2 separate regions of the Homo sapiens genome follow, and region 1 is linked to region 2. Evidence: promoter capture Hi-C in human tissues and cell types (Jung and others, 2019). All regions are on one chromosome and are shown on one strand. The core of a region is centred on a gene start or on the middle of the fragment in contact, and the rest is flanking DNA. Distances in the headings are between cores, read along the strand shown.

What was found. Contacts are between HindIII fragments. The study calls those that stand out against the background at their distance.
Region 1: a contact is called between a fragment that was not itself captured here and the fragment with the promoter of PSG9 in region 2, in 8 of the 25 tissues and cell types used here (H1 embryonic stem cells, aorta, bladder and 5 more).

Annotation. Positions count from the first base shown.
Region 1 is chr19:43,310,493-43,313,192 of GRCh38, forward strand. No RefSeq gene overlaps it. Among named protein-coding and RNA genes, the nearest start is that of LINC03078, 20 kb to the right of the region's middle. The HindIII fragment of the contact is 6,408 bases long and covers 1-2,700 here.
Region 2 is chr19:43,268,202-43,270,901 of GRCh38, forward strand. PSG9 (pregnancy specific beta-1-glycoprotein 9) reads right to left here and starts at 1,329. Exons shown (of 6, transcript NM_002784.5): 1 at 1,167-1,329. The coding sequence starts at 1,230. The HindIII fragment of the contact is 8,927 bases long and covers 1-2,700 here.

The sequences.
Region 1 (2,700 bases), core at 48-2,547, 42 kb after region 2:
AAGGAAAGGAAAGGAAGCAATATAGAAGGGATATGGAAATTAAGCTTTTGGTTTTTTTTAACTTTAACTTGTTAAGGCTTGATCCCGGTACACTAACCTATGATTCTGATGAGGAAGATGATTTCTTGACTTAAGTATGGTGGGTCCATCTTCTCTTGGCTGTGCGGATGGCAGTCTTGGTGGTCAACTGTACAGGATAAGGGCCTTCCCAGGCGGGCACAAGTTTCCCTTCTTTTTACCCTCTGATGAGAACATGGTCCCTGGGTTAGTGCTGGTGAGCTAGAAATTCTAGCGGTGGTGTCTGTGCTAAGAGATCTTTTATCTTAAGAGAAGAAAAGGTAGCGGAGAGACCAAGTATATAATTTCTGAGGAACTGATCCTTAGTTTCAAACATAGGAACATTAGCTGAGGAATGTAAATAAGGCAATCCATATAACATTTTATATGGAGACAGGCCTGTATCCTTTTGGGGAGCTGTCCTGATCCTTAATAAGGCAATGGGAAGACATTTGGTCCATGGTAAATGAGTTTCTAGAATTAATTTAGTCAGATGATTCTTAAGGGTTTGATTTATTCTTTCTACTTGTCCGGAGGATAAGGGATGCCAGGGAATATGATATTCCCATTTTATGTCTAGCACTTGGGCCAGCTTTTTAATAATATGTGCAGCAAAATGGGTTTCATTGTTTGAGTCAATATTTTCTATTATTCCAAACTTGGGTATAATATGCTCAATTAATGGTTTTACCACATTATTGGCAGTTGCCTCGAAAAGGGGATGGCTTCTACCCAGTGGTTAAGGTAATTAATTATTACTAGCAGGTGTTTTAGCCGACTAATGGGTGGCATTTTAGTATAATCGACTTGGACGTTTTGGAATGGTCTTAACTCCGGAGTTCTTCCTCCGAAAGGCAATTTCCTTTCAGCTTGTTTGTCAGCTTTCTTACAGATGAGACAGCCATTTGTGATCTGCCTGTCTAGAATATAAATGCCAATACACCTAAAGACTCTGAGAATCATGTCACATAGGGCCTGGGGACCCCAGTGAGTCCCTTGATGTAAATGGGATAATACTTCCCTCATAAAGGGTTTAGATAGCATCTCTCTTTGATCTGGAAGTATGCAGCTTTCTTATGAATTTTTTTTTTTTTTTGCTTTGGGATTTCAACTAATTTTTCTTTCCCAGCCAGGGAGAAGATAGGCACAACAGTAGGAGAAGGAAGGTGGGGAGTTAAATGAAAAATGGGCATATCTAAGACTGCAGCCTTTTTGGCCATCTGATCTGCAAGGTTATTCCTTCGGCTCTTAAGGGAAAAATCATGTTGATGTCCAGGAATGTGCATGATGGCTATCTACTTTAGTAGCTGGAGATTATCTAAGACATGACTAATGACTTATGAGCAAGTTCTTGGCCCCTACTATTTATAAGACCTTGTTCAGCCTAAATCTTCCCAAATGTGTGTGCTACCCTAAAGGCATACTTAGAATCTGTGTAGATAGTTTCTATCTGATCCTTTAAATATTTTAAGGCCTGACTGAAGGCAAATAATTTACAAGCTTGAGCAGAATAGCTATTGGGTAACCATCCTGATTTAATTTCTTCGAGTGTCTCTCTATCTACTACTGCATATCCACTGTGTTATTCCCCATTAAACACCCAGGGGGACTTGTCTATGAATAGGTGTTGCCCCGATCTATAGAGGCCTCAGCTAAATCTGGCTGGACTTTTGTATGGTAGTCAATTAAGTTGAGGCACAAGTGTTCTGTCTGTAGCAACGGATTTCCCGTCAAGAACCCTGCAGGGTTGAGTGAGTTATCTGTTGTTATGGTTAAGTCATTTAAATCATCCTTTTTTTTTTAACAGAATAGCCTTATATTTTAAAATTCTGGAATCAGTGGGCCAGCTTCCTGCTTTTTGGCTCAAAATGGTCTTGACTTGATGAGATGTGCTCACGGTCAAATACCCCCCAAAGGTTATTTTTCTACTTTTTTCTACTAATATGGCTGTGGTTGCAATAGATTGAATATACTGGGGCCACCCACTGGCAACAGGATTTAAAATCTTAGACAGAAAAGCTACTGGTTGTCACCGGCCTCCGTGTTCTTGAGTGAGCACCCCTAAGGCTACTCCATTGCTTACATTAACAAAAAGGTGGAAGGGCTTCTTAAGAGAAGGCAGAGCTAAAACTGGAGCAGACATTAGTCTATGCTTCAGTTTATTAATTTGATCTACTTCTTTAGAGGACCACATAAGGGGGTCAGGCCCCTTATTAGCTAACTTTTCATATAATAATTTACTTCTTAATGCATAGGAGTCGATCCATAATCGGCAGTATCTAATTAATCCTACAAACTTTTTAAGTTCTTGTTTGATCCAGGGCAGTGGCAGGGACAGAATTCCTTCTACTCGCTCAGGACCAATTCTTCTTTTGCTGGTGCTAAATGGCCCATGTATTTGACTTCTGGTTCTACATATTGGAGCTTCTCTTTTGAGACTCGTAGCCCTTCAGTGTATAAATGATTTAGAAAATAGATGGTGTACTTATTTACTTTCTCTATATCCTCTCCAGGTATAAGAATATCATCCATGTGTTAAGTAAACATAGCTGTTTTGGGATAGCAGCCCTCTCTATGACTTTCTCTAAGGCATGACTAAAAGGGTTTGGTGAATCTGCAAACCCTTGATACAGAACTGTCCAT
Region 2 (2,700 bases), core at 79-2,578:
AAAGATGGGGCCCTGGGTCCTGAGAAGGTCTCTTCCATCCTCAGCCTTGAAGATACACACACGCACACATACAAACAAACACACACAAAAAACGGGCATGTGTGTTTGTGTATGTGTATGTGTGTGTGTCCTACTGTCCTACTAGGTCAAGGTCAGCAGCATGACCCCCATTCCTTCAACACTTCTGACCTTGGCATTTTTCTGTTTGGAATCCTCTTCCCCAGGGGTCCACACGGCCCCCTCCACACTGCCCTCAGGTCCTGCTCACATCAGGGCATCCTTAGACTTCTTTCCTGACACCTCCTTCAGAGACCCTGGGTCTTCCCTTTCTGACCTTTCCCTGCTCTGCTCCCTCCAGGGTTCTTGTCAACACCTGATCTCACATTCTACATCTCTTCGCATGTCTGTCTTCCTCCCCATGACAGCGTGAGCTCCGTGAGGACAGGGACTTTTGTGATCCTGGTTGCACCCCAGTGCCTGGGACAGGCTGCAGACTCCTGTAGATGTGAGAGTTCTCAGGGCCCTCCATGCCCTGGGTGTTTTTTTTTCCCCCAATTGTTGAGGTTTTTTGCTGAGGATAGTGTTTCATGTCCTGCTTATATTTTTATTTGAAGTGTCATCTGATATAGTTATTATTATCATTTTTCAAAATGTGGTGGCCCCGGATGATTAATCAGGAAAACAGAACACTTAAGATTTTCCTACCTCTTACCAATTCCGGTTCAATGTGACTTTCCTCTTTTGACCCCTGTCCCTCTCTGGTGTATTTTCCCCTATCCAGGCTGCAACAGAGCCTTCTTTCCTTTTTTTCTTTTTTTTTTGAGACGGAGTCTCGTACTGTCGCCCAGGCTGGCGTGCAGTGGCGGTATCTCGGCTAGCTGCAACTTCTGCCTCCCGGGTTCACATGATTCTCCCACCTCAGCCTCCCGAGTAGCTAGGATTACAGGAGTACACCACCATACCTGGTTAATTTTTTATATTTTTAGGAGAGACTGGGCTTCACTGCATTGGCCGGACTGATCTTGAACTCCTGATCTCGTGATCCACCCACCTCAGCCTCCCTAAGAGCTGGCTTCTTTTATTTTACAACCCCATCCTCTCCAGGAGACCCCATCCAGTCACTCCGCTTCCTCCCCCTGTCCTCTCCCAGGAAGTTCTCTCCTCACCTGTGAGCAGGAGCCCCTTCCAGGTGATGCGCTGTGTGCAGGAAGGGGCTGGGAGGGGCCCCATGGTCTCTGCTGCCTGTGTGTTCTCCTCTGTGGAGATGAGCCTGGGATCCAGAAGCTGTCTGAGCACGGCTGTCAGCTGTGCTGTCCTTCCTCCTTCTGTGCTGAGCCTCTTCCCGGGGCAGGAGCACTTCTCAAGCTCATGGGCGGGGTCAGTCCCAGGACACCTCTCTGTCCCCTTCTCTCTCAGTCCTGCCTCCTTGTCCCTCCTTCTGTTTTTCCTTTTGTCTGTGTTTCAGGTCCCTGGGAGTTGTGGAGGCCTCTGCCTTTTTCAGCAGTGATTCTTTCACCAAACCTCAACACACACTTTGTGCAGACACACACACACACACACACACACACACACACACACAGAAGAGACACACACAGACCCACACAGTCAGGCACATACCCTGCAGGTTGGGCAAGCACAGTCCTGGGCCTCAGCCTCCTGCTGTCCCCATGGCTCTGGGTTGGGGTGCACATTCATGCCTTTTACCCTCTTTCATCCCCATCTGGCTCTCCCCTTCAGTGCAGGAGGCTGGAGATGCACCAGGTCCCTGTCACAGTGACACCCCATTGTGCTGTGGGTGAGCTGTGTGTTGCCTGGTGAGAGGGACCCTTCCTTTCTCTAATCGTGTCAAGCTTGACTGCAGCTTCCAAGGATGGACTTTCAGGACCTGGGTGTCCCAGAGGAAACTGTCCTTCCTGGAGGTGTGCAGGGTGAATCTCTCATGCCTCTTAGGAGGAGAGGCCTGTGCTGGTTGCTCAGTGGGGGCTGTGAGTCCCATAGTCAAAGGGACAGTTCTCTGTCAGTCTATGGCTCCCTGGGGTCTGGCGGCTGAGCTGGAGCTCAGGGTTTCTCATGTTCTCCCTGACCATCTTTGATGTCCTCTCTTCTCTGCCCAGCTGATTGTCCTGTGGTCACCACACCTTCCCCGTGGTGGTGCAGGAGGAAGTGGGGAGTTACCCAGGAACCCCGCGGGACATGGCTCATTGAGACGCAGGAGGGGGAGCCTGGGACAGAGCAGGGGTTCAGAGCTGGAGAGATTCATCCCGACTTACTCCGTGGCCATGATGGGCTCAGCCCTCCATGTGCTGACACACCCAGGGGTCTGTCCTGAGGGTTTTGACCTGGCCAAGCTGCTGTCTGTAGAGGAGGAACAGGCAGTGACCAGAGAGGCTCTCTGGAGGGACGTTGCTCACACCTGAGAGGGCGGGTGGGGGTGAGTTGTGTTCTGGGAGCAAAGAGCAATAACACCGCCCTTCTCCACGCAAGTACACAGGAGAGGTCTGTCTTCCCAAGGGACAGCTGGGGGTAGGTGGCCACATCCCGGATGGTACCTGTGAATGACCATCACACGCTCTCTGAGCCCCCTGGGGTGCAGGGGGCAGGCAGGTGACAGGGTGCCTGGCTGATTCCCGGGGAGGCTGTGGGCCCTCAGGCAGCCGCTGTTCTGTGTCGGCGCTAGGCTTGGCCTGGGAAGCCCCAGAG